2 separate regions of the Homo sapiens genome follow, and region 1 is linked to region 2. The links are contacts of gene promoters, found by promoter capture Hi-C in human tissues and cell types (Jung and others, 2019). All regions are on one chromosome and are shown on one strand. Each heading gives the region's core, a stretch centred on a gene start or on the middle of the fragment in contact. The rest is flanking DNA. Distances are from core to core; before and after follow the strand shown.

Region 1 (4,751 bases), core at 1,957-4,456, 940 kb before region 2:
TCACATGCTACTTGTCTGTGTCTCCTCCTATTATTCTATAGACAGTGTTTATTCTGAGCAAATTAGGCTATTTAATAATCATCACATATAATCCATATTTTCCTTATTTGGTTTCTTCAGAAGATATTCCTGTCACATCTTAACTCCATTTGTCCAAATCCTTTCCAAACATCAAGAAATAGCTTTTCAAATGCCCTAACCTTCCCCTGACCCAGTCCTAAATGGAGATTCATTTGCCTCTCTCCATATTGCCATAGTAATCATCTTTTTCCTTGCTTATATCCTTGTAATACAGTTGTTTATATACTTGTCTAGTTTATGCACTCTATGAGATTATAAACTCCCTTGAGGCCAGTTTCTTCTTATCTTCATATTTCACCTCTTTCTTTGCCTCAAATAATTCCTGGTGCATAGTATAGCACTGTCAAAATGAATTGCCTTCACAGAGTTATGGGTAGGCTTAGGCTTATGATGCATATAATGAGTGAGTGAGTGACTCACAGATTGAACAGAGAGGAGAGGAGCCTACCTCTCTCAGCTTTTAATAGTGCCCTAGGGATGCATTTGGAGAAAGACTTCTTACAGCAAAGTTTCTTACACAGGAAAAGAAAAGAAAAGTAAAGAAAAAAGCCAGGGGAGTTAAAAAATTTGACCCAGAAAAATAACAATGGCACTGAAAATTAAAGAAAAATGGAGATAAGACCAAGAATGAAGGAATCACTGTACTTCCTCAACTAAAGCTGAAACCTTCAACCAAACACTGCTTTTATACTTTCTGATTGAAAGCCTTGAGCCCAGTTTATTTCTGGGAACTTATTTAACAAAAAATTAAATTGTGGATTAAAATATATTAACTATATATCATGGATATTTATTATTTCTTTATGGAGAATCAGTATCTTAACTTCCTATGCTTATAGACCTACCTCCCACAACCTTGTGAGTTTTGATGAGTTTGACTGGAAAGAGTGTGCTTTTCATCATAGAAGCTAAAGTTACTTATACACCCTTGCAGCTAGGATTCAGGCAAATCCACTAGGTTTTGCAAATCAGATGAAACCAACCAATACACAGGGATTTTTGAACATGATGGACTGAAGAAACTCTCTGGTAAAGGGGAAAATTAAAACAAGATTAAATGCCAAGAGCAGACAGAACAGGAATGCTAATGTGAATGTCATATGCTCAGGGTTAACTGCGCTGAGGTGCAAGTTGGAGCTTTTACTGCTTTGTGGGAGTTGGCCATTATGCATCACAAAATGCCTTCATAAAGGAGTTTGGAGAAATTTTCTAGGCTATATAACTTGGAGTCTGTTTCTCCTGGCATTATGATGATTCCACGCACAAGCTAATATGTGTGTGATATGGTTTGGCTGTGTCCCCACCCAAATCTCATATTGAATTGTAGCTCCCCAAATTCCCATGTGTCATGGAAGGGACCCAGTGGAAGATAATTGAATCATGGAGGCAGGGCTTTCTCATGCTGTTCTTGTGGTAGTGAATAAGTCTCATAATATCTGATGGTTTTGTAAAGGGGAGTTCTCCTGCACAAGCTACCTTGCCTGCCACCCTGTAAGACATGACTTTTCTTCTCCTTTGCCTTCCACCATTATTGTGAGGCCTCCCCAGCCACAAGGAACTGAGTCCATTAAACATCTTTCCTTTATAAATTACCCAGTCTTTGGTATGTCTTTAGTAACAGCAATGAGAACAGACTAACCCAGTATGTGTGTTTGTGTGTGTAGTGGTAAAAACACTTAACCTGAGTTATACTCTCTTAACAAAATTTTAAGTGTACAATATATAGTTAACTATAGGTACAGTGAATACAGCAGATCTTTAAAAGTTACTCATCTTGCATAACTATACTTTATACTCATTGAACTGCAACTACCCTCTACCTCCTTCCAGTTCCTGGAAACCACCATTCTATTCTCTTGTTTCTATAAGTTAGATTATTTTAGGTACATCATATAGTTGGAATTATGCAGTATTTCTGTGACTAGTTTATTTCTGTGACTAGTTTTCTTCACTTAGTGTAATGTTCTCCAGATTTATCCTTCTTGTAGCATATGGCAGGATTTCCTTATTTTTTAAGGCTGACTAATATTCCGTCCTGTGTATATGGCACATTTTCCTTATCTATTTATATATAAATTGATGATAACATACATAAATATTTCAATACCTTGGCTATTGTGAGTAATGCCACAATGAACATGGGATTACAGATGTATCTTTAAGATCCTGATTTCAATTCTTTGTGATATATACCCAGAAGTGAGATTGCTGGATCATATGGTAGTTCCTTCTTTAATATGTTAGGAAACACCATGTCTCCTATTGCTTTTTACAGCAGCTGCACCACTTAACATTCCTACCAGTAGGGTACAAGGTTCCAATTTCTTCACACTTTTGCCAATACTTATCTTGCTTTTTAATAACAGCCATTCTAATAGGTATGAAGTAATATCTCATTGTTTTGATTTGCTTTTGTTCTGATTATTAATGATGTTGAGCATCTTTTCATATACCTATAGGCTATTTATATGTCTTCTCAGGAGGATACATGTCTATGCAAGTCCTTTGCCCATTTTAAAATAAGGTTATTCATTTCTTCGCTATTGAGTTGTAGGAGTTCCTTATACACTTTTGATATAAACCCCTTATTAGATATATGGTTTGCAAATATTTCTCCCATTCCATAGGTTATCTTTTCACTCTTGATTGCATCCTGTACTATATAGAAGCTTATTATTTGATGTCATCTCATTTGTCTATTTTTGCTTCTGTTTCTTATGCTTTTGGTGTCATATCCAAGAAATCGTTGCCAAATCCAATGTCATGAAGCTTTTCTCCCATTTTCTTCTAGGAGTTTAACGGTTTCAATTCTTACATTTACATTTTTAAACCATTTTGATGGATTTATTTTTGTGTATAAATAGGGGTCAGATTTTATTTTATTACATGTGGCTATCCAGTTATCCCAACACAATTTGTTAGAGAATATATTTTGTCAAAGGTGCCTAACATAGTTTTAACATCTTATTTTTTAAATGTAGCAGGTGAGTTCTTTATCCACATACCCCTTGCCTTTTAATACCTGCCAACAGACTTCCAAATATCATCAACTTCTCTTTGCCTGAGGGCTTGCTCTGGCTGCAGGAGCCCACTCCACCTGTGCATAAAGCAGGCTGGAAATGCTGGGGAATCAATGTTCCACAGGAGTGGCTTTTAATCATTAGCTGCCAAGATTTGGTTCATACGATGCAATTCTCTCCCCTCAGGGGTAATACGCTTGTGGGACTAAGCTATAGTTGCCCGCTATAGTAATCTGTTTGATGATGCACTTTTATTGGCTTCCTTCCCTTTTCTTTATCGCTTCACCACTCCTCTACTTATGTTTATGGGACCACATCCCAGATGAATTATTTGCATATAAATCCTGCCTCAAAGTGTGATTCTGGGATCCAAACTAAGATACTAAATCTAAACTTAATTTCTGTTACTTACAGCTCCTAAACCTATCCTGCTGTATTCGAGAATCCCACATCATGTAAAAATGTCTATTCACATGATGAAAAATAATCTAAGCCCTCATGGTATTTTTTTCTTTGCTCATTTAGAATTTCGTAAAATAGCATGAGCATTGGTGTTATAGACATCTCAGGTCAAATACCAGGTTTTGCTCTTAATAACCAAGTGACACAGGACTATTTACATAATTTTGCTGAATTTCAGTTTCTTTTTGGAGAAATGAGGGTACTTATAACTCTCTTATTATGAAAATATATAAAATAAGCATTTCCAGACCTACGTTGCACCAGTCACACAAATGCTCACCATATACACATTCCTATTCTCCTTTTACTTTGTTACATTTTTTGACCTCTTCTTAATCGAACTTCTTTCATTTTTACATAAACAATAATTAAACAAAAGTTAAAATACCCAAAGAAATATAGTTTTGGTGAAGTAACTAACTACACAAGGCACTTAGATACTTGATAGAACATTTCACTCAAGGTGACAACTTTATTCTACAACTGAAGATATTTTTACTAAGTGTAAGCCCCTACTCAATATTTAAGCTACAAAAGTTACCTTGCACAAAGCTCATCCTTCTAGTAGAGATATGAGCTGCTTTCTGTACCTACTGCTTTTGGCAGCCCACACTTTGATTGTGGTCAAATATTCAGCAATTTTATCATACATCCTTGATGCCCCAAATATTTCCCCTGACATTGCCTTCCCCATAGCTTCAGGCTCTAAACTTTTCCCTCGACTTATTTTCCTCATCTCTGTCCATTCCAACATCCTCTTGAGTCTGACTAACCTGATAAAGAAATTTAATCCAAAATGTTCTTCCAAATTTTTATTTGGGCTTTGTTAACTCCAAGGAATAGCTAATATGATAACTATAAGCACACAAACAGAAGCTTTAAGGCATATATATTTGGACAAGAAAATATTTTTCAAATTCTACCTCACAGGTGAATGCTTGTTCCTGAAAAGTATAACAGTGGCTCTGAGACTCTTAAGTTAAAATAAATCTCCTATTTCCTCAGCATTTTAGCCATTATCAATTGTCATTCCAACAATATTTGATATACCCTGACTTTGAAAATGAGTGCCTTTTTAAAACTATTTATTTAACAAATACTTGTTAAATATTACTATGTTCATAACATTGTTCTAGGCATTAAAAGTTAGCCAATAAAGAATTCCATACCATAAAAGCTTAGGTATTT
Region 2 (4,137 bases), core at 1,362-3,861:
TGTTTTTCTGTATTGTTTACATTTTTTAATATGTGTATATTTTTTACATTTTAAGTTAATTGATAAATTTCATTGACAAATGAATAAATTTAATTAACAATTTATATTTAGTATAAATTAATCAATAAGTATACAAATAACAAACTGAGATACATAAATTATTAGCCCCTTCCAAAAACAACCCAAGGCCAGGAGTAGTGACACACATCTGTAATCCCAACACTTTATGAGACAGAGGTGGGCGGATCATTTGAGGTCTGGAGTTCAAGACCAGCCTGGCCAACAGGGTGAAACCCCGTCTCTATTCAAACCACAAAAATCAGCTGGGCTTGGTGGTGTGCACCTGTACCCCCAGCTACTTGGGAGGCTGAGGTAGGAGAATTGTTTGAACCCGGAAGGCAGAGGTTGCAGTCAGCCAAGATCATGTCACTGCACTCCAGCCTCGGCAACAGAGCAAAACTCCCTCTCAAACAAAAACAAAAAGAACCAAAAATATACAGTTTTCCAAAACTAGGAAATTTCACCAAATAACTTATTTTAGAATTTAATCCAAGCAGAAGGATCACTTGAGGCCAGGAGTTTGAGACCAGCCTGGGCAACAAAGCGAGACTCCATCTCTTGAAAACATTTAAAAATTAGCTGGGCGTGGTGGCACATGCCTACAGTCCTAGCTAGTCTGGAAGCTGATGCAAAAGGATCACTTGAGCCCAGGAGTTCAAGGTTACAGTGAGCCATGATCGGGTCACTGCACTCCAGCCTGGGTACAGAGTAAAACCTTTAGCTCTGAAAAAAAAAAAAAATTTAATCAACTCTGAATGGGTAAGAGAGAATTTAACCAGTTTATGAACAGCAGGTGCTAAGTTCATAACTGTCTAGTCACAACTCATTGTTTCACAAAATCAATTTTGTGGGTTACAATTACAATTTATAAATAAAACAGAATAGAAAATAAATTTCAGGATGCATTGCCTGTACTACACACTATATCATGAACTGGTTTTAAATACAGATGTATGTGCTTGTGTAAGTGTACTGAGTACTGGTGTAAAATGTACTGCATACCATGTGTAAGTATGCTAATGGTGTCAAAAGAAGCAGTCCCTATCCTTGAATGATTTTCAGATATAGCCCCTGAAAAGGAAAGTCTCCTTAGCGATGGCAAAAACGTCTTAGAATGTAATCCCTGGACCTCCTGCATGAAAATTATCCAAGAGCTGTCAAAAAAGATTTAAAACACCAAGCGTTGTAAAATACATTATTTACAATAAAAGCAAAGTGTAAACAAAATGTTTTCCTAAAAACATTTAGAAGGTATGACTACACCCAAATACATGCCCATGCAGAGATAACCAGACAGCTATGGGTATAAAATACTTGGCTATTCATCAACACTGAAAGCATTTTCTGAAAGGCAGCATAAGAAGCCACTTTATCAATACAGATATGAAAGTACATAGGAATTAATTGACAGAATTCCAGTTTGTAACGTTTAATATATAACTCAAATAATTCATGCATTAGGGCCTTTCCAGGTATAAGGTACTACCAGTGGAGAATCAAAGGTGCATAATGTCAAGATCCCTGCACTTGGAGGTTACAGAGGTCACCCACTGGTGAGAAACTAATGTAAAATCTCACTGCACAGCATCTATGTTGGTATGAATGGTTTGTTTTAATTTTTTGTACTTTAAAAAATGGGGCTATTTCACATAACAATTTTCCATTTTGCCGCTCCTGAAATACAGGCAACTTTCCCACTGGCCGGTCCACTTCGGAATTCTCTGCTCTCCAGTTCCTCAGATGTGCCCATCCTACTCCCATTTTCTTTCTCCATCATACGCCTGACCCCTGTGCGCATTTGAGCTTACAACCTCTGCCAAGACTCCAGTGGATTTCGAGAACAGATTGTGACTTGCTAAGCATACAAACTCCAACGGGGAAGGGCTCTTATCAGACGCCCTCTTTAAAGAAGGTCCTCTCACGAACTTAAAATCTTACGACAGAGGGAAACAAACACTGAACGACCGAATGACTTTTCAGGAGCTGACATCTCTGCGCTTCAGGGGGCGAATTCCAGCCCCCGCCCCTCGCGGCTTTTCAGTCCTTTAAAAGACTAGGCAAAGATCTAAGAGAGTTAATTGCAGGAAGAGTAACAATCGATGCCCACAGATAAGGGTCAGGGAGAACTTTCACCCAGTTTTGCAATCAGCAGCCCAGCCTGGCCTCTCCTCTCAGGCAGGACCTTGGGAAGCCCACACCGGGGTGCTGGGGAGAAGCGGGCTGTACCTGCTTGAGAGACCAGGTGTTTCCGGCTCTTTCCTCCTCAAGAGATGCGGTGCCTCAAGAATAACCATTCCCCTCCCCACCACCTCAGCGGGGTGACCTCAGCTGCGGCTGCGCGCGTATGCCGGCCCGAAAAGAGCAGCCAGCTGCGCCTCAGCAAGGGGCGCGGCCTCCAACCTTCGCATGCTCACCTGCCCCCGCGCCGGTGACCAGTACCACCCGCCCGTCGAACCTCAGCGGTGAGCCCATGAATAAGGCCTGCAACGACACACACACGAACAAGCAGAGCCGCTGGACGCCGACTGCGGGACAGGAGGAGGCGGGGAATGGCGGGGGCGGGACGAGGGTCAGTGACTTGCCGATTTCTGGTAGGAAGATGAGCGCAGAGCGCGCGGCTCCCTTGGAATCCTGGGAAATGTAGTTAAGAGTGACTCCACTCGCTGGAAGACTTGCCTTCCAGGGGCCATTTCTGCGGCTGGAAGCAATGGGAGCTGCTAGGACTTGTGTAGAAGAATAGTTAACTCGACACCTTGCGTTCATCTATTCACCTGTCGTTTCATCATTCACTCAATAAACGTTTTCTGGGTTTAGTTGCTGACCTAGAGAAACAGCATGCGGCCCCTATCCTTGAGGGGCTTCCAGAGATAGCCCCTGGGAAGGAAAGTCCCCCTTAGGGATGGTAAAGATTTGTCAGTGTAATAATCCCTGCACTTCTACATGCAAACATCAGGGGACTGTCAAAATGCAGAGTCCTGGACCCCCACTGCTTACCTCCCAAAATAGAATCTCAAGGGGCAAAAACATTTTGACAAGTGTTCCTAAATGATCTTGCGTTTGTATGTTGAGAACAGTCATAGTTCAATCAACATTTACTGAGCATCTCCTGAGTTTTGATAGGATCCTCAAGCTACTCAGAGTCAGATGGTAAACTTTCAATAACGGTGCAGCCTAGACTTGTGACCAATGTGTGTAAGTGAGCTAATGGTGTCAAAATAAACAGACCCTATCCCCGCTGGGGAGAAAGAGGAAAAACTTTCTGAAGGAGGACCAGGACCTAAAGTGGCGACCCCTGCAAAGAAAGAAGGGCATTACAGGCAGCACAAACACTAGCTAGGTTTGGGGAGAAAGAGGGTAAAGCCACAAAAGCAAAGCCAGCAAGATCATGTTTAGATGTTTGAATTTTGTGCTGAAAACGGTTTTAAGTAGGATTACTCCAGAGAGTGGTGGGAACACATTTACACTATGGAAAGATCACTTTGCCCATTATGGAGGATTGATTGGATGTTGCGGGAAGTCATGGACCCCAAACAGAGGGACCTGCTAGAGCCGCAGCAGAGGAACATAAATTGTGAAGATTTCACGGACATTTATCAGTTCCCAAATAATACTTTTATAATTTCTTATGCCTGTCTTTACTTTAATCTCTTAATCCTGTTATCTTCGTAAGCTGAAGGTGTACGTCACCTCAGGACCACTGTGATAATTGTGTTAACTGTACAAATTGATTGTAAAACATGTGTGTTTGAACAATATGAAATCAGTGCACCTTGAAAAAGAACAGAATAACAGCAATTTTTAGGGAACAAGGGAAGTCAACCATATGGGCTGACTGCCTGCGGGGTTGGGCAAAAACAGCCATATTTTTCTTCTTGCAGAGAGCCTATAAACGGACGTGCAAGTAGGGAAGATATCACTAAATTCTTTTCCTAGCAAGGAATATTAATATTAATACCCTGGTAAAGGAATGCATTCCTGGGGGGAGGTCTATAAACGGCTGCTCTGTCTTATGTGGTTGAGATAAGGACTGAGATATGCCCTGGTCTCCTGCAGTACCCTCAGGCTTACTACGGTGGG

Evidence for each region. Contacts are between HindIII fragments. The study calls those that stand out against the background at their distance.
Region 1: a fragment that was not itself captured here is called in contact with the fragment with the promoter of HSD17B4 in region 2 in 1 of the 25 tissues and cell types used here (dorsolateral prefrontal cortex).

What each region holds. Positions count from the first base shown.
Region 1 is chr5:120,392,105-120,396,855 of GRCh38, reverse strand. No RefSeq gene overlaps it. Among named protein-coding and RNA genes, the nearest start is that of PRR16, 70 kb to the left of the region's middle. The HindIII fragment of the contact is 4,037 bases long and covers 1,188-4,751 here.
Region 2 is chr5:119,450,971-119,455,107 of GRCh38, reverse strand. It overlaps HSD17B4 (hydroxysteroid 17-beta dehydrogenase 4), which reads right to left and starts at 2,611. Exons shown (of 24, transcript NM_000414.4): 1 at 2,475-2,611. The coding sequence starts at 2,532. RefSeq lists an enhancer at 2,461-2,510. The HindIII fragment of the contact is 10,263 bases long and covers 1-4,137 here.